7 separate regions of the Homo sapiens genome follow, and all the other regions are linked to region 5. The links are contacts of gene promoters, found by promoter capture Hi-C in blood cells and fetal thymus (Javierre and others, 2016). All regions are on one chromosome and are shown on one strand. Each heading gives the region's core, a stretch centred on a gene start or on the middle of the fragment in contact. The rest is flanking DNA. Distances are from core to core; before and after follow the strand shown.

Region 1 (3,292 bases), core at 472-2,971, 330 kb after region 5:
CTGAAAAGGAACAGTTGGAAAGAATTAGTTCTGTTTTCCATAAATTATTTGAAATTTAAGAAGCAAAACAGATTGTTTATTTAGAAGAGTAGGAGGATAAGAATTTAGAGTGAAAAAGGAAACCAGATCATAAAAGTAAGTAATTACAACTACTGAGTTAGCTGGGTTTCATGAGTCAAGAAATTTTCAGAATTGTTTTGAGGAGAATGTAGTATCAGCATTGTTCTTCAGCATGGAGCCCTGGAGACTATGTTTCCATCGAGGAGTGAATAATTTTTCTTCTCCTCCATTTTTTCATCTATATTTCAAATGTAACCATTGCAACTTCCCTCCTTTCATAAGAGGAAAATGAAAGAATATATATTTAGTCTACTTTTCTCCAAATGAGGAGAAAATTTTTAAGATTTTTGTCAACTTAATATGTCCATTTTCTAGTTTATGGTTAAAACAGGTTTCTAGAGACAAGTTTAGAAGGCTTTCATTCTCCTAGACAAAATCTATTGTTTCTTTTCTTAGGTGACATTTTAAGTTAATGGCATGAGATCTGTTTTCTCTCTCTTTGATAGTTTCTGGTAATTTTTTCCTTCCTATCATGATTTTATTTTCATCCTTTTGTTTCACTTTATTAGATATTAGAAAAGAAAATTCTGTTATCTGGCTCTACTTCTTTAACTTTCCCCCAGATTTTTGCTTTCGTTTGTAACATAAACCATGGATGACCATTTTATAAAGTAAAAAGAATATAAAGTGTCAATGCAATCTTATATCTAGAATGTTCCAAATTATGAGTCTTGAAAAACAACTAGAAATAGACTATCCTACCAAAAACTTTACACATGGATTCAAGGCAATGACAACTTGAATTTGAATAGGTAGTGGTAGTGTCCAATTTCAATGGAAGTAAGCACTTTTTTTTAATCTGAGCATTTGTACACAGTTTAATAATATCTTAAAAAATTGCAGGAGCTTTGTTACTATTTGGGGTAAAAGTGGAACACAATCTGGTATTTTCACATGCTTTATATGTGGTAATATGTTGAGTAAAATGAGGTACTTCTCAAGCATTTAAGGAACAAGCTGGATTGAACTGATTATGAGAGCAAATTATCAGAGCCACAGAAGGTATTGGAGAATGTATAATATTTTTGAAAAAGTATTTTATGTAAAGCTGTTGCTATTCTGAGTATCTTGTTTTCTTTGGTTGCTAGCTAGAGATTAGTGATAATATTCAATATATTCCAAATTTAATGCACTACAAGAACAAGAAGTGTTCTTGAATAGCCACATCTAAATCATTAAGTTCCCCTACACCCACATTTCTACTAAAACCTATGGTACAGTGGGAGCAATGTCATATAGTGGCTTAAAACATAGGCTTTAGTTCAAATCCCAGATTTTCAACTTTCTACCAAAGTTACCTGGGGATAGTTACTTGATCTCTCTAAGGCTCACCTCTGTCAACTCTAAAATGTTTACAATAATAGTGTCTATCTTATAGTTTTGAGCATTCACTGAGAAAATAGATGTAAAATATTAAAAGACAGCCAGTATTTATTGTGTTTAATAAATGACATCTATTATAACTATATTATAAACAATATATTTTTCAAGGAACTGGAGCTTAACTAGAAAGAAGGCATTAAATTGGTTGGTTTAATATAGCAGGGACAGTAAAAATGTTGGCCATTGTACTTGAAATCCATCTGCACAAGGCCAGCATATTTCTACTCTCCACACATCCAGCTGCATGCTGGGTAGCTGGGTCAGCAAAGATCTTACCTACTCTTCAGATAAAGCCATCAAAATACTTGGCAGCAGGTTATAAGAACTGGGCTAGCATCAACTTCATTGCCCTAGATATCTATGGGAGAGACAGGATGTATTAACATGCTGAGACAAGGAAGGAAGGTACTTTGTGTAAGTTAATGTTTAAGATCACTAGGCAAGAGTTCACTCAGCATTCTTTATATAAGCATTTGGAAATGAACATGGAAAAGAATGTATCACCTTCTAAATGAGCTTGTCAAAAAAAAAAAAGCAAGTCATATTCTTCTAAAGCTGTTCATCTAGTCTGGCTGTATGTTAATTCATACTTGGAATGTAATCCAAGTCATAGATAAGCAAAAGGAATGACTTCACAGAGTCTGGTGCTGAGCTACCAGAATATTCAGTATCTAAATATATAAAATGGTGAGTTTGATTCCTCATGTCACCAAAGTGGACAAGAATTAAAAGAAACAGCTTTAGCTGCCTAACATTCTCAGAATCATATTATACCAGTGCTAGGGTGAGGAGACTATGAAAATGAGTAAAAGCCAATCTGCTACATTTGGGCATTCATTCTTCTATTGCCTCTCTTTAAAGCTGCCAGAGCTTGTGGATATATGGATTACAATTCTAAACAGGTAGTCTTCCAGCATCATTTCTTGCAAAGAGTTTTAAATAAAATTCAAAACAATAAAATATATTTTTTAATTTTTTTTATTTCAGCCAGGATCAGTGACTCACACTTCTAATCCCAGCTCTTTGGGAGGCTGAGGCAGGCGGATCACTTGAGGTCAGGAGTTCAAGAACAGCCTGGCCAACACAGTGAAACCCCGTTTCTACTATTACATTGATAGAAAAGTAATTGTGGTTTTTGCTACTAAAAGTAATGGCAAAAACTGCAATTACTTTTGCACCAACCAAATAAAAATACAAAAATCAGCCAGGCATGGTGATGCGTGCCTGTAATTCCAGCTACTGGGAAGGCTGAAGCACAAGAATCACTTGGAGTACAAGTGGCCTTTTGTTACATCAGTGAATTAAATAGTGGTGAATTCTGGGATTTTAGTGCACCTGTCACCCAAGTAGTATACATTGGACCTAAGCTGTAGTTTTTTTATCCCTAGCCCCCTCCCATCATTCCCCTTCTGAGTCTCTAAAGTTCATTATACCACTCTGTGTGCCTTTGCATACTCATAGCTTAGCTCCCACTTACGAGTGAGAACATACTTATAAGTGAGAACATAGTTTTTGGTTTTCCACTCCCGTATTACTTCACTTAGAATAACGACTTCCAGCTCCATCCAAACTGCTGCAAAATACATTCTTTTGTTCCTTTCCAGGCCAGGTGCAGTGGCTCTTGCCTGTAATCCCAGAAATTTGGGAGGCTGAGGAGGGTGGATCACTTGAGTTCAGGAGTTCGAGACCAGCCTGGCCAACATGGTGAAACCCTGTCTCTATCAAAAATACAAAAATTAGCCTGGTGTGGTGGCACGTGCCTGTAGTTCCAGCTACTTGGGAGGCTAAG
Region 2 (3,608 bases), core at 164-2,663, 280 kb after region 5:
ATATGAACTCAGTCAATAAATTATTTGGAGTATTTGTATGTATATTGATGTATTTCTTACACCAACATAGGTTTTTTTGGTAACTTGCCAGTAAAAGATATGAGAAATTGCTACCAAGAGTAGCAGAAAGAGGTGACAGATCTAAAAATTGTAATTGTACAAACCAATGTAAGAAAGGAAAAATTTCTTATACTGTAGTGAACAAATTGGTTAAACTGCCACCAGGCTTGTGTTGAGAATGCAGGATTTGTGTCTAGCAAAACTACAGGATTAGGGGACACAGTGGAAAAATTTTAGGGTGGTTGACTCTAAGTAGCTTTCTATAGCCATCAAAATGGTCATATAATAGAGAAAAATAAAGCTTACTTGAAACTGACTCACACAGAAAAAAGAAAAGATACTAAATTATTTCTCAGAATTCCTGTAAATCAGTAATCTGCAGCCTTGCAAGCTTGAAAAAGTCAATTTTGTATATTGCAAGTTAAAATTAATGAAAGCAAGTCTAGAATAAAGAACTCTAGTAAGAAATAATATGGGATATGGGACTCAACAATAGGATTTATTACTCGGGCACTGTACCACAGTAAATAATTTTCATGATGCATCCCCTGCTACAACTAGTAAAGATTGACTCCAGTTTACAACAGAGTAGGAGGGATCCATTCTGGAGACACAAGGCAGATTAAAGGTGCTTCCCTACACCTGGCCACTGATTTGAATTGTCTCCAGTTCATGATCAAGTCTAAGACAGTTACTAATGAGAGGTTTGAATAAAGCACTGGAAAAGAGCTGGATGTCATGTCACAAGTCCTCAGATTCATTTCTGAATCTGACTTAAAAATATCTTCAGCTTTGCTTCTGTAATGACTTGGCTCATAAATGATAAGTGAATGGGGATATATTGTCAAGATAACATGGGAGTCTTTAGTTTATTTATCATTTTTTCCCAGCATGTAATATTTTGTACAGTCAAGTAATAGCAAAGAGCACTATCAGAGAAGAATGCAGGAAACCATAGAGCATTATAACATCGTGAAACCAGACTGATTCATCCAGAATTCTTCCTCTTGGCTCATTTTGGCATATGTTGTCTTGAAACTACCCTTATCACCACAACTCAGCATCTTCAGCCCTTTCCTACCAACCCTTACATTCAACTACCTTTTAAGGTAAAGTCCCATATTTACTATAGTGTTTATTTATTAAAAATTTAACATAGATTTTACCTGTGCTAGTATTTTTATTAGAATTGCTTTGCACAAACTTAATTTTTAAAATAATGCTTATTATTTTTACTGTGTGACATTACCTAATACAAAGCTTTTCATGGTTGCACATATTGTGCTTTTGCAAAATACCAATAATTTAAGCTCCTCCAATGCCAAAGAAACACCAAGTCTGTCCAACAGCTTATGATTGCTTAGCTCCTCAGAAAATCTCAAGAGACATACACTCCCATTTTCAGCAAGAAGTGAACTGTTAGTTTTGTACAAATCCCTGTGGTGGAAAGCTTTAGTGCCCATTTCAAGTATGTGCACTCTGACAAGATGAAGACTATTTCCCAAATTTCAAAACCACGGGAACCTGGATTGGCCACCAATTGATTCACTCCAGTTGGGCAATTAATTCTTGCTATGCCTTCCAATTAGAACATGACACAATTTATAGACTAGTAACTGCTATACATTATTTTCCTTATTATTCCAAACGTGGAATAATGAAATGAAATGAAGTCATTTTCATTATCACCTTCTCTCTCTACCATGGTATATTGGGTGTGTTGGATGTGGCCAACGTTATTTAATAATAACTTCCATATCTGAGGAAAGATGCACCTACAACTAATAAAAGTAATTCAACATTATCCAATATTCCTGGACTTAAAGGAAAATGCACTTTGGGTTTGCCTTTTGAGAATTATTTATTAAGTTCTATGCACCCTTGAGCATTTTCAAAAGCTTGTATACTAAAACGTGTACAATTTCAAAGGATAAATGTTATGATACATAAATTGTATCTCAATTTATTTTAAATATAATTTTAAAGATGTTTAAAAAGCATACGTAGAGGAAGAAGCATGCTTGTGGAAACTAGGCTATCAAAAAGTATACATATTGTAATAAACATGCATTGTTTTAGTTTCAGTTTTTGTTTTATTCTGCTCAGCACCTTTTCTCCTTTCTCATAATAAACCATATAAGGCAAAACAAATAGACAAACAAAAAAACATGTTTATCTTATAGTTGACTACAAGAGTAAATGATGTAGTCTAGGATTATTCACATAGCATGTTCTGTTTGCCTAGCTACCGTAGTGCCTTGAAAATGACCCTACGAAAAAAAGCAGATCTTAATTTTTCCTGAAAACCCTAGAGACCAGACTACTTTCTTTCTTCTCACTGATGTTATATAAGGATATTATATGCAGAACTGCTGTCACAAGTATTGCTACTATAAAGGGAGCCAGCATGAGGATAAAAAGTCATACTGAGAAGAGTAGAACCTAAAAATTCTTAGGGAGGTGGAACCAGAAAAAAAAAAGTGACATGAATTTCTGAATCATAGTGTACCAAGCACCAGCCCTACCATCAGACTTTCTGTCTCACATCAATCAACAGAGTCTATTGTCTCTAACAAGTTGAAAATAGGTGTCTCATACGTGCAAGCAAACATTTCTAGCTGAATCAAAAGCTTTGTCACCCTACATGCCTCCACAGCACTTTGGGTTTTCCTAGGGTTATTAACAATAGAAGTCATAACAGATCGTTTCATTAATGGACTAGGGAGTCATGGTTCCCTTGCTGTATCATTTGCAAAATGATACAAGGAGAAGTGGAAAATGCTTGTACATTTGAGCTTGCCTTCCGTCTTTCTGCTTTTGGAACACAATTATTATGTGAAGATGCTAGGGCTCACCTGCTGGAAATATGTGTGGCCTATCCAGAGCCAACACCAACCACCAGACATGTGAGTAGGACTGCACAAAACAGATCTGTCCTCATTTGACTTACTAAATAATTGGTAATACCTGACTGAGCCAAGCCAGCATCCCTTGGAGTAGAGAGGAACTGCATCAGCAGAACCCTGACCAAATTGACAATTCACAACAGAATTATAAGCAAAAAAAAAAAAAAAAAAGGCTGTTAGTTTAAACCACTAAGTTTTAAAATGGTTTGCTCTGCAGCAAAGGGTAGCATATAGAAACTGGCCCAGAATAAGTTAAGCAGAAAAGAAATTTACTGCAAAATGTAAATGCTCTGATAAATTTAATTAAGCAAGCCTAGAATGTGATCATGAGCAGAGATGAGATGAGCAGTAGGAAGGGTCTTTCCCAAAGACTACAGATACTGTCGAGAGTTCTCATCTGCTAAAAACAACTTTCATTTGAAGCTGTTGCCATTGAGCCAGATGTTGGCAAGGCTGTAGGAATACATGACATGGTTCGGATCTGTGTCCTCACCCAAATCTCATGTCAAAATGTATTCCTCAATGTTGGAGATGAGGCCTGATCGGAGGTGATTGGATCATGGGGGCAGATTTCTCATGAATACGTTACCACCACCCCCTTGGTGCTTTCCTCATGATAGTAAGTTCTCGTGAGATCTGGTC
Region 3 (3,252 bases), core at 53-2,552, 360 kb after region 5:
AAGAGTCTGCTTTCTGGCATTAGAGCTTCAAGATTCTTTTAAAAAAAAAAGCTACTGTTTTTATTTCTGAAGCTTCTGGTTCTTGAGTGTCTGTCTAGAAGTTGGTTGGTTGTTTAGTGATTCAATGGTCTTATTGGACCCCCTCTAGTTTTATAGACTGTTTTACATTTTCCTTTTCTAATAGGTAGATCCCTGTATTCTGCAGGGACCATGGCCAGTTTAGTAAACGTCTGACTGTAATACCATTCCACTGGCATAGGGACAGACACATGTGCACTCAAAGATCTTGCCACAGTCCGAGTGTCTCTTCAAGTCTCATTACTACATTTATGTTCTCAGCATGCATTTTCATAAAGTGTTGCTTTACGAGAGAAAATTGAGAAAATGGTTTGTGAGAGCGTCCAGGGCATCCATCAACTGGACAACAGTAAAATTTCAGTACGGGTTATCAAACCATTTCTTTTTCTTTTTTTTAACTTTTAAGTTGAGAGATATAAGTGCAAGTCTGCAACTTAGGTAAACTTGTGTCATGGGAGTTTGTTGTACAGATTTCATCACCCAAGTATTAAGCCTGATACCCATTAGTTATTGTTTCTGATCCTCTCCCTCCTCCCTCTCCACCCTCCAGTAGGCCCCAGTGTATGTTGTTCCTTTCTATGTATCCATGTGTTCTCCTCATTTAGCTTCCACCTGTGAGAACATGCAGTATTTGGTTTTCTGTTCCTGAGTAAATTTGCTAAATATAATGGCCTCCAGCTCCATCCATGTCCCTGCAAAAGACATGATTTTTTTCTTTTTTATGGCTGCATAGTATTCCATGGTGTATATGTACCACATTTTCTTTATCCAGCCTATCATTGAAGGGCATTTAGGTTAATTCCATGTCTTTCCTATTGTGAATAGTGCTGCAATGAGCATACGCATGCATGTGTCTTTATAAGAGAATGATTTATATTGCTCTGGATATATACCCAGTAATGGGATTGCTGGGTTGAACAGCATTTCTGCCTTTAGGTCTTCCAGGAATCACCAAACCATTTATTATTGTTGGGTCTACTATTCCATCCTACAGGCAGTGGCTGTTGACCAAGAACATGCTGAGCGTGGGGCTGCTGGGCAGGATCTTGCACAGCCAAGCACTGTGTGCAGGTTATTGGTCCACACTGCCTGGGACAGCTTGATCACCAACTGCTGGATCAGCTCCCAGGCTGATGGCATCAGGCTGCAGGCTGCTGTCCCTCAGCTGGGGTCCCAGAGGCCCCCACAGGCTTGAGGCAGCCTTGACTTCCCTTGTGGCTGCCAGGATGGCCAGGGGGCCAGCCGCCAGCACTGCTGTCAAGGTTCCCATACAGCCACAGAGGCTGATCATCTATACTACTCTCTGATCTGAACTATGATTATCTGTGAGTCAGTTAGTGAAAGATATTCCAACTATATCTGCTATGCTATGTTCCTTTAATTTAGAAAAAGACAAATATGAAAAACATTGTAACCTCAATCCTGAGTAGAGTAAAGGCAAGAGTATAAAAATTTCTTTGTACGTTTCTCTAATTTATTTTACTTTATTTAACACACAAGGAGACAACATTTCTCTACTTTAAATATCTCAATAAAGAATCTTGGTGACCATTTTCATCAAATGTGTAGCATTTGATGAAATCATATATACTTCCTCCAAAATATTATGATATAGCCTCCTTTGTGACAAAGAAAACTCCACAGAACATAATATTCTTGGAAAATACTGTCTCCAGTTTGACATGCCATAGATACTAGGCATGTTAGGCCTGTACCATAATTCAAGTATTGTCTGGATGGAGCTGGACAGTGAGGCAGCTATCTAATCCTACTAGCCATAATACTTTATTTCATGTTAAGTTCCCACACCAATGTTATGTTTGTCCTTTCCCAAAAATATAGAAAATCATAAAAATATCACTAGTAAAAATTCAGACTGTCATAACATTTAGTTCTTCCTGCAATTTTGGAAAATTATCACAATTTCAATAAAATTTCTAAGAACTTAAAAATAGGAAGAGTATCAACAGTAGTTAAAATTCATGGAAATTCAGTGTCTACACCAGCAATTCCTTGTTTTGCTTTCTTTTCTAAAACTGTCAAGAATAATTGCAAATAAATACCCAAAAGGAAGAGATTATATAGATTATAACTGGCTTATTAATTATTTAAATATTTATTGGCTTGAACTGTGGGTGAACAATTCTTTGCATGAGAAAATGCAGGGAAATTCTAGAACTTTCACAGCTTTGCATAAAGTTATTTCTTCTTCATAGGAGCTTCCTGCATCTTTTTGGACCTTTTGGATGTGAAGTCTCTGATAGCATAGATCTAATTACTCCCAGAATATATACATGCTCACAATGTAGCATCATCATAAATTTGATGGGCTAAAACTGTGCCCACCTAGGTCATCCACCTCTAGACTGCCTAGTACCAGGTTCATACTGTGCATATTTAGTGCCTCTGACTGGTCTGATCCTATATATGAAAAGGGTCTCATTATTATATAACAGAAGCTTGTACATCAAAAGTTGATTCAGCACAAACTGTTACCCCTCCCCACTTATGCCCATATCACTCACTCTTTATTCCACACATATTCTCCCTCTCAAGGCCTTTGGCTTTGGCAATTTCTCACAAAGTAATGTTCCCCTGCAGTTCTTGCCTGATTCAATTAACTTCCTTTTATCAATAGCTGTCATTTTTGTTTGTGTTAGCATCTCCCTTTCTCTGATAAATATTTCACCCTGCTCCAGTCTTGGATTTCTGATGGAACTGTCAATCCACTCATCTCTCCTTATTTGACGTCATTGATAAACATACAAACTGGCCCATTCAATTATGATACCACATTCCCCTAGCTAAAAGATTGAGTCAGAGTTAAGCATATGAACCAAGATGGACCTTATGACCTTTTTGATTTAGACTTGAAAGAAAAGAGAGATGGTGCCATGCTTTCTGGATCATAGATTTCAAGGACTATATATTGGAGACTGTCTACTGTCTTCCAAGTGAAAAAATCTGTCTCAAGAAAAACACCAACCTTAAAAGAAGAAAATGGGGAGAGAGTAACTATGTTTGAGTCCCTGTATTCTAGATCTAGTAACACCTGAAACCAGTTACTGCTGGACTTATACATTATGTGAATTATAAATTTCTGTCTTCACTTAAGATAGTTTGGCTTGGGTTGCTGTCATGTGAAATCAAAAGATTCCTGATTATTCCTTCCCG
Region 4 (3,311 bases), core at 641-3,140, 380 kb after region 5:
GCTACCAATGACCTTCTTCACAGAATTGGAAAAAACTACTTTAAAGTTCATATGGAACCAAAAAAGAGCCCGCATCGCCAAGTACATCCTAAGCCAAAAGAACAAAGCCGGAGGCATCACGGTACCTGACTTCAAACTATACTAAAAGGCAACAGTAACCAAAACAGCATGGTACTGGTACCAAAACAGAGATATAGATCAATGGAACCGAACAGAGCCCTCAGAAATAATGCCACATATCTACGACCATCTGATCTTTGACAAACCTGAGAAAACCAAGCAATGGGGAAAGGATTCCCTATTTAATAAATGGTGCTGGGAAAACTGGCTAGCCATATGGAGAAAGCTGAAACTGGATCCCTTCCTTACACCTTATACAAAAATTAATTCAAGATGGATTAAAGACTTACATGTTAGACCTAAAGCCATAAAAACCCTAGAGGAAAACCTAGGCAATACCATTCAGGACATAGGCATGGGCAAGGACTTCATGTCTAAAACACCAAAAGCAATGGCAACAAAAGCCAAAATTGACAAATGGGATCTAATTAAACTAAAGAGCTTCTGCACAGCAAAAGAAACTACCATCAAAGGAACAGGCAACCTACAGAATGGGAGAAAATTTTCACAACCTACTCATCTGACAAAGGGCTAATAACCAGAATCGATAATGAACTCAAACAAATTTACAAGAAAAAAACAACCCCATCAAAAAGTGGGTGAAGGATGTGAACAGACACTTCTCAAAAGAAAACATTTATGCAGCCAAAAGACACATGAAAAAATGCTCATCATCACTGGCCATCAGAGAAATGCAAATCAAAACCACAATGAGATATCATCTCACACCAGTTAGAATGGCGATCATTAAAAAGTCAGGAAACAGCAGGTGCTGGAGAGGATGTGGAGAAACAGGAACACTTTTCACTGTTGGTGGGACTGTAAACTAGTTCAACCATTGTGGAAGTCAGTGTGGCGATTCCTCAGGGATCTAGAACTAGAAATACCATTTGAGCCAGCCATCCCATTACTGGGTATATACCCAAAAATTATAAATCATGCTGCTATAAAGACACATGCACACGTATGTTTATTGTGGCACTATTCACATTAGCAAAGACTTGGAACCAACCCAAATGTCCAACAATGATAGACTGGATTAAGAAAATGTGGCACATATACACCATGGAATACTGTGCAGCCATAAAAAATGATGAGTTCATGTCCTTTGTAGGGACATGGTTGAAGCTGGAAACCATCATTCTCAGCAAACTATCGCAAGGACAAAAAAACCAAACACCACATGTTCTCACTCATAGTTGGGAATTGAACAATGAGAATACAAGGACACAGGAAGGGGAACATCACACACCGGGTCCTGTTTTGGGGTGGGGGGAGGGGGGAGGGATAGCATTAGGAGATATACCTAATGTTAAATGACGAGTTAATGGGTGCAGCACACCAACACGGCACATGTATATATATGTAACAAACCTGCACCTTTGCATATGTACCCTAAAACTTAAAGTATAATAAAAAAAAATCAGAAATGACACAAATAAATGGAAAAACATTCCACCCTCACAGACAGGAAGAATCAATATCATTAAAATGGCCATGCTGCCCAAAGCAATTTATAAATTCAATGCTATTCTTATTAAACTATCATTGGCTTCCTTCACAGAACCAGAAAAAACTATTTTAAAATGCATATGGAACCAAAAAAGACCTCGAATAGCCAAGGCAATCCTAAGCATAAAGAACAAAGCTGGAGGCATCACGCCACCTGACTTCAAACTATACTATAGGGCTACAGTAACCAAAACAGCATGATACTGGTACAAAAACAGACACATAGACCAGTGGAACAGAATAGAGAGCCTAGAAATAAGGCCACACACCTACAACCATCTAATCTTCGACAAAGCTGACAAAAACAAGCAATGGGAAAATGACTCCCTATTCAATAAATGGTACTGGGGGAACTGGCTAGCCATATGCAGAAGATTGAAACTAGACCCTTTCCTTACACCATATACAAAAATAAACTCAAGATTGATTAAAGACTTAAATGTAAAACCCAAAACTATAAAAACCCTGGAAGACAACCTAGGCAATACCATTCTGGACATAGGAACAAGCAAAGATTTCATGACAAAGACACCAAAAGTAATTGCAACAAAAGCAAAAATTGGCAAAGGGGATCTATTTAAACTAAAGAACAGCAAAGGAAACTGCCAACAGAGTGAACAGGCAACCTACAGAATGGGAGAAAATTTTTGCAAACTATGCATCTGACAAAGGTCTAATATATATCTATAAGGAACTTAAATTTACAAGAATAAAAACAAACAACCTCAAGTGGGCAAAGGACATGAATAGACACATTTCAAAAGAAGGCATGGCATACATGCGGCCGACAATCATATGAAAAAAGCTCAACATCACTGATCATTAGAGAAATGCAAATCAAAGCCACAATGAGATATCATCTTACACCAGTCAGAATGGCTATGATCATTAAGTCAAAAAATAATGTTTGCTGGCAAGGTTGCAGAGAAAAAGAAACACTTATACACTGTTGGTGGGAGTGTAAATTAGTCCATCCATTGTGGAAGACAGTGTGGCAATTCCTCAGAGATCTAAAAGCAGAAGTACCATTTGACCCTGTAATCCCATTTCTGGGTATATACCCAAAGGATTATAAATCATTCTATTATAAAGACACGTGCATATGAATGTTCACTGCAGCACTGTTCACAATAACAAAGACATGGGATCAACCTAAATGCCCATCAATGGCAGACTAGATAAAGGAAACGTGGTACACATACAACATGAGATACTATGCAGCCATAAAAAAAGAACAAGATCATGTCTTTTGTGGGAACATGATTGGCACTGAAGGCTATCATCCTTAACAAGCTAATTCAGAAACAGAAAATCAAATACTAAATGTTCTCACTTATAAGTGGAAGCCTAATGATGAGAACACATGGACACATTGAGGGGAATGACACACACTAGGGGCTGTCAGAGGATGGAGGGTGGGAGGAGGAAGAGGATCAGGAAAAATAACTAATGGGTACTAGACTTAATACCTGGGTGACAAAATAATCTGTACAACAAAACCTCATGACACAAAGTTTACCCGTACAACAGACCTGCACATGTACCCCTGAACTTAAAATAAAAGTTAAATTTAAAAAGAGAAACTGAAACTATGACATGAACATACATAATCCTTACTCTATTGCTATGTACCTAAGTAGAATTCATTACATTAAATTGATATAGTGATGGTAATTATA
Region 5 (3,430 bases), core at 564-3,063:
TAATTATTAAAAATTCGAGAAACTGACCATTTTTGGATATCCGTATTCATATTTCACATGGATTGTACATTATAGAACTTATTACTCAATGAAAAGCCATTCATCTTAGTACTGCTTTCTGCCACTGTTAATATTAGAATTCTGAGAGGCAGTTGGTTGAGGCATTTTAGGATGCACTAAATATTGTAACTACTATAAAATCTTGATGCCTTCATCAACTCCCATATTTTTTCAAAACAAAAGATGGTGTAATTTTAGACCCATAACAAGTTTAGAATTGCTCCAAAATGTAGGTAAGCATGATAATGCATATGAAGTTTTTCGTAAGTTTTTATGAATATACCAGGAATATGATGTTGTTGTTTCTATTCCTGATGACAAGAATGATAGTGAAGCTGGTTTTGCAATAGTAGTGAGAGAGTAATGGTTGTAATCACTGTCACATGTTACCTATTATTTTGGGACTTACAAGGGCATGGGAAACCTGAAATCACCAGAGTTGTTCCTTTCTTTTTGCTACTGAGGACATTCCTTTGAGAACTTACAATATGGAAAATACACAGGTAAGATGTTACATGTCTTAAGAGTAGAATTAAAACATAGAATTATTTAAATGAGCCACAGTTTCAGAATGATTCCATACACTGTAAGTTTTTACCTACTGACTTCAGGAGCGGATATCTATTTTAAATTATTTTGACTATAAAATGAAATATGCATTTTTTTCTGAATTAAATTTAAAAAGTATGTAAAATAATTGATACGATATTTACCCAGTTCTAATATTTGGAAAAAATTATTTTTCTAACACATCCTCCTGTAATTGCTAAATTTTGGTACTAAGAATGACCTCCTGTAAAGAAAACAATTGCATAATTTAATGTTGGCCAAAATATTTTGCTCTAAGTAAGATATAGTATTTGAGTTTGTAATGGTTGAATTAGTGCTTTTGGGACTGGATCAGCTGACATACAAAAGTAAGTATATGTACCCTACTTCTGATCATGAAGTTTTAAAGAAGATGGACAGTCATGAGAGGAACTATTTTGGCAGAGAAAAGTTAAGATGAGTGTTGGGAGGATATTTCTCTATTGTAAGTCATATTTGTTTGGAAGTTTTTAAAAAATATAGCTTAAACAATATAACTATAACTCTATGTATAATAAGAAGTGGGGGCCCAGTGAAGTTGAGTTATGGTTCAAAAGACAATATAAAAATGTCATAAACTATTAGGCTGATGGAGACTACAGAGAAGCACCAAAATCATAAGCATATATTATGTTTATTTATTAAGTTTCTTGTGTGTGTGTGTGTGTGTGTACTGGGCATGTTGGTATATGTATATATTTATAGTGGATGAATGGTATAAAATGTACTATATTCAGTAGAAATGTGATTAATATAATTAAATATTAGAATGTCAAACTAGCCCATTATTTATCTTTATTGCATCCTGAAATCATTTAAAAATTAGTACACTATTCTATTTTAATTATCTATCTACACTCTTTCCACTTTATCCTACAAAATAGCATGCCTACGTTGAAGAATATGAGCACAGACTATGACTACTCATGAGAAAAAAATTACATCTAGGTGGTAAACAATGAGTAAGATTTATACAGAATGTTTATTTTTCCTTAATTTTATCTTATCATAAACATCATTTCTGCTTCAGAGAAACAGAATGGTAAGACAACTGAGAATAAAGATGTTTTATGGATGTTATTATTATTTTTGAGATTACCTCTATATTGATTTAATACCCTTTGATGCACATACTTTGATTTTTAGAGAGAAACTCATCTAAGATATGATCTGTGAAAATCACACCAGAGTCACTGAATTTATTCTTCTTGGTTTTACAAACAACCCCGAGATGCAAGTTTCCCTCTTTATTTTTTTCCTGGCCATTTATACAGTCACTTTGTTGGGCAACTTTCTTATTGTCACAGTTACCAGTGTGGATCTCGCACTTCAAACACCCATGTACTTCTTTCTTCAAAATCTGTCACTTCTTGAAGTATGTTTCACCTTGGTTATGGTGCCAAAAATGCTTGTAGATCTAGTGTCCCCAAGGAAAATTATCTCTTTTGTGGGCTGTGGTACCCAGATGTACTTCTTCTTCTTCTTTGGCAGTTCTGAATGTTTCCTTCTCTCCATGATGGCTTATGATCGCTTTGTGGCCATCTGTAACCCTCTCCATTATTCAGTCATAATGAACAGGTCCCTATGCTTGTGGATGGCCATAGGCTCTTGGATGTCCGGTGTTCCTGTGTCTATGCTACAGACAGCTTGGATGATGGCCCTTCCTTTCTGTGGACCAAATGCCGTGGACCACTTTTTCTGTGATGGTCCCCCAGTGTTAAAACTAGTCACAGTGGATACAACCATGTATGAAATGCAAGCACTTGCCTCCACACTCCTGTTTATCATGTTTCCCTTTTGTCTCATTTTGGTTTCCTACACCCGCATTATCATAACAATTCTGAGGATGTCCTCTGCCACTGGCCGCCAGAAGGCATTTTCTACTTGTTCCTCACACCTCATTGTGGTGTCCCTCTTCTACGGAACAGCCAGTCTGACCTACCTGCGGCCCAAATCAAACCAGTCCCCTGAGAGCAAGAAGCTAGTGTCATTGTCCTACACTGTCATCACACCTATGCTAAACCCCATCATCTACGGCCTGAGGAACAATGAAGTGAAAGGGGCTGTCAAGAGGACAATCACTCAAAAAGTCTTACAGAAGTTAGATGTGTTTTGACTTCTATTGTGTAAGAATGCTTCCAAAGTAGGGACAGCAGAACCTACTAACCAAAGCTTAAAACGGAATGGAAGAGTTGCTCTTATTTCATCACTAACTGGTGGGTGCATTTCTGTGTATCATTCAGGTTCCTAGCAGGAAAGAGATGGTACTCCTGAATTGGGATAAGTGAGAAAACGCTTTATGAGAGGGCTATTTAGAAATTGTGAACAAGGTTAGGTAATAGCCACACAGATCATACAACAGAACTTTTACACTTCTTGGCCTGAAGGGGCAAGTAGAAGGAGTGTTAACTGGAACCAATAGAATGCTACAACTATTAAAAAAAAATCACCTGATAGGATCTCTGTTCTTTAGTACAGCAAGGCAGCCATCCCAACCTTATTTTGATCTGACTCTCTCAAATCTATTGCTGGCTTCTGTTCTAAGCCAAACCAAATACAACATGGGGACAAGAATGTTGATGCAATGTATAAATGCGAGTCTCCTGGGGCACAGAGCAGGATGAAAAAGGGTAAGGAAAGTTATGAAAGATAAGTAAGAACAGCCACCACAAACCACTGTATATTCTGCAGCTATTGCAGTGTAACAACGAATCATGGCATCTAACCTTACAAAAATTATAAAAGGTAAAGTTTTGCAGATGCCAAGAGTCCATAATACAAA
Region 6 (3,373 bases), core at 488-2,987, 410 kb after region 5:
GCTAAAAATAGGGGAGTTTTATTGCTAAAAAGTTGAGAGTGAAATGGATAATGAAAGGCCATTTATACCTCCTTAATGTACTAATATATCTAAATCAACAAAGCCCAGAGTCACAAGGACAGGAAGCAAATATTTTGCAAGTCGTTAGGTTTAGTGGCAAGGGGTGCCACTCCTACTTCAACCCCTTGGTAACCAATGTATTTTGTATTTGTATTTTGGCTATTTGGCTATTGTATTTCGGTTATAGGAGAATACCACATATTGGTCTGGGGTTCAGAGCCTATGTCTCACCTATAAGAGATCACTCAAACTTTTCAAGGTTTTTTCTCCCAACTGGTGCTGTATTTGAGTTTTTAATTGGCCATTCTATTGTTCAAAAAAGGCCAGGTGGTTCTGGGGAATGAAGTTACAGGGTAATCCCAATGAGTCCTGTGAGCATTGGCACATTGTCTCACTTGTTTTGCTATATATTTTTTCCTTGATTAGATGCAATATTATGTGAAATATCATGACAACAAATGCAGCATTCAGTAAGTCCGTGGATGGTGACACTTGCAGATGCAGGCAGACAGGAAAGATAAATCCATGCCCAGAGTAAGTGATTATCCCAGTGAGTGCAGAGCATTGCCTCCTTCAGGCAAGGGGTACAATGTAATCAAACTATCCCCAGGCATATTAGTTACCCATTGCTATGTAACAAATTACTACAAAACTTCCCTGCCTAAAACCACAGACAATTATCATCTCACAGTTTGAGTTGGTCAAGAATCCAGGAGAGAGCAATGAGCTGGGTGCCTCTCGCTCAGGGTCTCTCACGAGGATGGAGTCAAGCTGTCACCGAGGGTGCAGTCACTTAAGGGACAACTGAGGTTGGAAAATCCACTTCTAAACTCATTCATGTGCCTGTTGGCAGGCCTCAGATCTATTTCCAGGTTCACTCACATGGTTGCTGGCAGGCTTTGGCTCTTCCTCATGTGAGTCTCTCCACAGGCTGCCGAGTGTCCTCAATATGGCAACTTGTGAGAAGGGGGAAGAGAAAGACAGAGACAGAGGCAGAGGAGAACCAGACAGGACCCAAGATGAAAGCCAAGTCTTTTTGCAACATAATGTCAGATATCCCATCACTTTTGCCATGTTCCCTTCATTAAAAGCAGGTCACTGGTTCCAACCTACACTAAAAGGGAGAGAATTACACAAATGCATGAGTATCAGAAGATGAGTTTCATGGAGAACTATCTTAGAGGCTGCCTACTACACCAAGCTATTGTTACTGGCAAGTTACACACTCAGCCATGGCATAGCCAGACCAGCCTTGGTGAGGGGAACCATTGTCGGTAAGCCTGTGCCTAACCTTCATCCCTTCCGCCATGGACATTTTGATTGTGATCCCTTGAATAAGCACTGGAGATGCTGGAGAAGGCTGACTGACATCTACCAGCTGGGTCATCTTGATCCCTAAGTATTAACAGTATCTTCTGTAGTGAGAGACCTTTCGTGAGCATCCACATTGTCTCACCATTGTCCCACATATTCACAAATAGTCTCGCAGTCTGGACCCATTTTCAAAAGCTCATTCATAGAATAGTAAGATGGTTGAGAGCATGAACTCTGCAGCCAGATCACCTGGATTCAAATGCCAGCTCAGCCATTTACTAGCTGTATGGTCTTGTTCAAGTGCCTAACCACGCTATGCCTCAGATTCCTCTTCAGTAAAGTCAGCATAATAGTTGAAACTACCCCACAGTGTTTTGGGAGGATTCAGTAAGTTAATATATAAAAAGTGCTTAGAACAATATCTGACACAGAGTGAGCATTACAGAAGTGTTAGTGATGATGATGATGGTGATGATGATGATCCCCAGAATGCCTTGTCACTCATTCTCCTGTATTGTTCCTTCTACTTCCTAAACCTCCTGCCAAACAAACCATTAGCTGCTGCTCATGGATCAATGTAAATCCATATCTCAGGCCATCCTTCTTCCAGGAAAAGCAGACTCTTTAAGTTGTACTATCAAAATTCTGCTCAGCAGGCATTTTTCTTCTCCACTCTTCCTCAGGTCACCCCTTTTTTCCTCAGGGTCAACCCCCATTACTGGGGCTATAATGCCATAGATGTCCATATCTAGTTAGTCCCAGCAGAGTTGTGCAAAGTTCTCTGTAAAGCTGGGCCCAAATATTTTTCCTCCTCCATCAACCAGTCATGAGGAACACTACATGAGGCCATAGGAAGAAAGGACATTAGTGTGTCAAGAATAGACATGACGGGAGTGTGGACCATGAACTGGTGGAATGTCCTTGTGACTTCAGGACTTCTTCAAGTCTGATCTCATGTATGCCCCTTCACTTGAAGATGGGGTGCTTCTGGGCCTGACCATGCAGCTTTATCAATTGGGAAACACCCAGGTCATAAAGGGCAGCTCAGGTTGCAGAGTCACCTGGTATCCCAGGGTCAGGTGTTTATCCTCTGCCAGAGATCAAATAACAAGCAATGGCTCAGAGCAGTGGCTTGTGCTTGTAATCCCAGCACTTTGGGAGGCCAAGGCAGGAGGATCACTTGAGCTCAAGAATTTGAGACCAGCCTGGGGAACATAGTGAAACCTCATTGCTACTAAAAAAGTTTTAAAACTTAGCCAGGCGTGCTGGCGCACACCTGTAGTCCCAGCTACTCAGGGGGGCTGAGACAGAAGGATTGCTTGAGCCCAGGAGGTCGAGGCTGCAATGAGTCCTGATTGTGTCACTGCACTCCAGCCTGGATGACAAAGTGAGACCCTGTCTCAAAAATACATAAATAACAAACAAGGAGATATTTCTCAAAAGTATAATAGTTACTTGGTGAAGAGGGCGTGGACTTTCTCTGAATCCTTGGGGCCTCCACTACAACTCTTCTGTGAATGGGGCTTTTCACAGGCTCCAAACAGCACCAATTCAGCCATGGCACTTCTCACACCTTCAGATTCCCTTAGTCATAAAAGCCAGCAACAGAATTAGCTGTATTGCAGCCTGGACCAGCCAATATCCTTCTCTTACTCTGGGCCCCTGGCAAAGCTACAAGTTTTATGTGTTTAGCTGAAAATATAAAAGACCTAAGCCTGACAGTTTCTTTCTTTAAGCTGCCAGAGCAGTTATGAACAGCAACCAAACTCACTGTCATTTAACTCCTTGTACCCATACCATGCTCAGGAATCACCATTCAGCGGCACTTCAGATGATGATAGGTAGTTATTTCTGTAACTGTTTCACATCGGAAGGCTGAAAACCAAAGATTACCAGTCTTCCATCCTCCAATAGTACTGAATCCTCATTGTCTTTAAACCCAATGAGATCAAATGATCATTCCCAGATTCCCACCCTTGCAACAATTTCTGGTACTAAA
Region 7 (3,435 bases), core at 643-3,142, 310 kb after region 5:
CAATCAATGAGTGGATAAAGAAACTGTGAGATACACACACACACACACACACACACACACACACACACACACAATGGAATACAACTCAGCCAAAAAAAGGAACGAATTAATGGCATTTGTGGCAACTTGAATGGGATTGTAAACTATTATTTTATTTATTCATTTATTTTGAGATGGAGTTTCACTCTTGTTGCCCAGGCTGGAGTGCAATGGCATGGTCTCAGCTCACTGCAACCTCTGCCTCCTGGGTTTGAGTGATTCTCCTGCCTTAGCCTCCCAAGTAACTGGGATTACAGGTAGCTGCCACCACGCCCAGCTAATTTTTGTATTTTGGGTAGAAATGGGGTTTCACCATGTTGGCCAGGCTGGTCTTGAACTTCTGACCTCAGGCAATCCACCCACCTCTGCCTCCCAAAGTGCTGGGATTACAGGTGTGAGCCACTGCGCCCAGCCTGGAGACTATCATCTTAAGTGAAGCAACTCACAGTGAAAAACCTAACATCATACGTTCTCACTTATAAGTGGGAGCTAAGCTATGAGGATACAAAGGCATAAGAATGACACTATTGACTATGGGGACTCAGGAGGAAAAGGTGGGAAGGGGGTGAGGGATAAAAGACTACAAATTGACTCAGTGTATAGTGCTTGGGTGGTGGGAATACCAAAATCTCACAAATCACCACTGAAGAACTTATTCATGTAACCAAATAGCACCTGTTCCCCAAAAACCTATGGGGATAAAATCATTTTTAAAAATAAAGCAGCACATCTAAAAATTAATTCACCATGATCAAATAGGCTTCATTCCTAGGATACAAGGTTGGTTCACCATATGCAAATCAATAAATGTGATTCAGAATGCAGAAAAATGGTGGATAGGAGACCAGACTAACAGGCAGCTCCCACTTGGATGGACAGAACAGCATCTGGAGACTCACATTTAAACTTTTGCACCAAGAAACACCACAGAAGCATACCAGGAAAAACAAAATAATTCACAGATCCTTTGAAAAAAGCAGCTTGCTGCTACAAATGTCGCAAGACCACCAACAAACTGTGAGTTCTCAAAGTGCGAAAGGGGGAAAAGTCAGCCTCTGAACATACATCCCCCCAGGGAACCTGAAAATCTGGATCACAGGAGAAGGATTTAACTTTATCTAGAGTAGAAACAGATTTAGGGAGCTGAGTGAAATGAAAAAGTAGAAGAAGCAGAAGAAAGAGCCCTGTAGAAATTCCTGGTCCCCAGTTCAAGCCCAGGGAAGCCATTCTTAGTCTTATCTCACAGAAGCCCTTAGGAAAGGGAAGGCAGACAGCAGAATTGGGGAGGGTCCACAGAGTGAAGGAAGCTCCTAGCTGAATTTTGTAATAATTTCAACTGAGCATGAATTTTCCTGAGCAAAATCCAGGGTTGGGGGGGTGAATGGGAAGTATAGATACAAGCACAGAAGCCACCACCAAAAAAAATGTATGCTGGTGAGGAGGGGTGAGGCCTGAAAACCCTACTTGGCTTTCTCAGTGGGGAGGCTTGTAGCCTGAGGAGAGATCTCAGCTCTGCTCATTGGCTGCCTGGATATAAACTCAGTGCAGTTGTGGGGATTGGCATGGTGGGAGTGAGACTGGCCTTATTGGCTGCATGGGAGGTAGCTGAGGCCTGTTACTGCCAGCTTTCCCCTACTTCCCTGGCAACCTGTATTATGCAGCAGAGGCAGCCATAATCCCCCTGGGAACATAACTCCATTGGCCTGAGAACCATCTTCTCATCCTCCACAGGGGCCACAGCAAGCCCCACCCAAGGAGTCTGAGCTCAGACCCACCTAAACCTACCTCCACCTGAAGGGCTTTCTCTACCCACCCTGGTAGCTGAAGACAAAAGGCATAAACCCTTGGGAGCTCTATGGCCCTGCCTATCACCTGAGAAACTGAAGTACTCATCCTGACCAATGTAGGGTAACATTATATCCCCCTTCTACTACTGCAGCTGGTGCTCTCTTGAAAGCACCACCTTCTGGGTGGAGGCCAACCAACTCAAGCCACTACAACAATTCATAACTGAACAATCCTGCTTCAAAAAAGGAGAAAACAACAGCTAATTCCATCACCGGCAACACCCTGGCTAACCAGAGCTCTTGAGTCTGTCCACGTGACAACTTCACTGTTGGCATAACCACCATTCAAGAAAACCACTGCACTAAACAAAACTACAACTAAGGATTCCCACAGAGTCCACTTTACTCCTTGCCACTTCCACCAGTGCAGGTGCTTGTATCCATGGCTTGGAGACCTGAAGACAGATCACATCACGGGACACTTTGCAGACATTCTGCAGCACCAGCCTGGAGCCAGGTAGCCCTGCGGGGTGGCTAGAACCAGAAAGGCAATAACAATCACTGCAGTCTGGCCCTCAGAAAGCTCCATCCCTATGGAAAAAAACAAGAGCACCACATTAAGGGATAACCCTGTGGGATAAAACAGTCTGAGAGTAACCCTTGAGTGCCAAATCTTTCCACTGGAACAGTATACCCAAATGAGAAGAACCAGAAAAGTCATTCTGGTAATATGACAAAACAGGGTTCTATAACACCCCCAAAAGATCACAGTGGCTCTCCAGCAATGGATCCAAACCAAAAAGCAATCTCTGAATTTCCAGATAAAGTACTCAGAAGGTTGATTATTAAGCTACTCAAGGAGGCACCAGAGAAAGGTGCAAACCAACTTTTAAAAAAAATTTAATAAAGGATATGAATTAAAAAGTCTCCAGAGAAATAGATATCATACAGAAAAGACAATCACAACTTTTGGAAACAAAAGACACACTTGGATATAAACTAAAATGCTTCTGCACAGCAAAAGAAACTATCATCAGAGTGAACAGGAAACCTATAGAATGGGAGAAAATTTTTGCAATCTATCCATCCGACAAAGGGCTAATATCCAGAGTCTACAAATAACTTAAACAAATTTACAAGAAAAAAACAACCCCACCAAAAAAGTGGGCAAAGGATATGAACAGACACTTCTGAAAAGAAGACATTTATGCAGCCAACAAACGTGAAAAAAAGCTCATCACTGGTCATCGAGAAATGCAAGTCAAAACCACAATGAGATACCATCTCACGCCAGTTAGAATGGTGATCATTAAAATGTCAGGAAACAACAGATGCTGGAGAGGATGTGGAGAAATAGGAATGCTTTTACACCATTGGTGCAAGTGTGAGTTAGTTCAACTATTGTGGAAGACAGCATGGTGATTCCACAAGGATCTAGAAACAGAAATACCATTTGATCCTGCAATCCCATTACTGGGTACATACTCAAAGGCTTATAAATTATTCTACTATAAAGATACATGCACACATATATTTATTGCAGCACTATTTACAGTAGCAAAGACTTAGAACCAACCCAAATACCCATCAATGATAGACTGCATAAGGA

Evidence for each region. Contacts are between HindIII fragments. The CHiCAGO score rates a contact against its expected background, and 5 or more counts as called.
Region 1: a fragment that was not itself captured here is called in contact with the fragment with the promoter of OR10A7 in region 5 in 7 of 17 cell types (naive B cells, M1 macrophages, M2 macrophages and 4 more); the score reaches 8.9 in naive B cells.
Region 2: a contact is called between a fragment that was not itself captured here and the fragment with the promoter of OR10A7 in region 5, in 3 of 17 cell types (total B cells, megakaryocytes and M0 macrophages). The highest score is 6.0, in total B cells.
Region 3: a contact is called between a fragment that was not itself captured here and the fragment with the promoter of OR10A7 in region 5, in 12 of 17 cell types (M2 macrophages, total B cells, naive B cells and 9 more). The highest score is 13.9, in M2 macrophages.
Region 4: a contact is called between a fragment that was not itself captured here and the fragment with the promoter of OR10A7 in region 5, in 5 of 17 cell types (M2 macrophages, M1 macrophages, total B cells and 2 more). The highest score is 6.9, in M2 macrophages.
Region 6: a fragment that was not itself captured here is called in contact with the fragment with the promoter of OR10A7 in region 5 in 15 of 17 cell types (total B cells, naive B cells, M2 macrophages and 12 more); the score reaches 13.3 in total B cells.
Region 7: a contact is called between a fragment that was not itself captured here and the fragment with the promoter of OR10A7 in region 5, in 3 of 17 cell types (M1 macrophages, M2 macrophages and naive B cells). The highest score is 5.8, in M1 macrophages.

What each region holds. Positions count from the first base shown.
Region 1 is chr12:55,552,390-55,555,681 of GRCh38, forward strand. OR6C4 (olfactory receptor family 6 subfamily C member 4) reads left to right here. Exons shown (of 2, transcript NM_001005494.2): 2 at 1-3,292. Among named protein-coding and RNA genes, the nearest start is that of OR6C4, 4.4 kb to the left of the region's middle. The HindIII fragment of the contact is 3,988 bases long and covers 1-3,292 here.
Region 2 is chr12:55,495,799-55,499,406 of GRCh38, forward strand. No RefSeq gene overlaps it. Among named protein-coding and RNA genes, the nearest start is that of OR6C68, 5.2 kb to the left of the region's middle. The HindIII fragment of the contact is 190 bases long and covers 1,319-1,508 here.
Region 3 is chr12:55,581,024-55,584,275 of GRCh38, forward strand. It overlaps the pseudogene ATMINP2. Among named protein-coding and RNA genes, the nearest start is that of OR2AP1, 10 kb to the left of the region's middle. The HindIII fragment of the contact is 2,465 bases long and covers 71-2,535 here.
Region 4 is chr12:55,602,667-55,605,977 of GRCh38, forward strand. No RefSeq gene overlaps it. Among named protein-coding and RNA genes, the nearest start is that of OR2AP1, 32 kb to the left of the region's middle. The HindIII fragment of the contact is 5,423 bases long and covers 1-3,311 here.
Region 5 is chr12:55,219,212-55,222,641 of GRCh38, forward strand. OR10A7 (olfactory receptor family 10 subfamily A member 7) reads left to right here and starts at 1,814. Exons shown (of 1, transcript NM_001005280.1): 1 at 1,814-2,764. The coding sequence starts at 1,814. The coding sequence ends at 2,764. The HindIII fragment of the contact is 4,903 bases long and covers 1-2,818 here.
Region 6 is chr12:55,625,441-55,628,813 of GRCh38, forward strand. No RefSeq gene overlaps it. Among named protein-coding and RNA genes, the nearest start is that of OR10P1, 9.8 kb to the right of the region's middle. The HindIII fragment of the contact is 3,558 bases long and covers 1-3,373 here.
Region 7 is chr12:55,528,214-55,531,648 of GRCh38, forward strand. No RefSeq gene overlaps it. Among named protein-coding and RNA genes, the nearest start is that of OR6C4, 20 kb to the right of the region's middle. The HindIII fragment of the contact is 4,855 bases long and covers 1-3,435 here.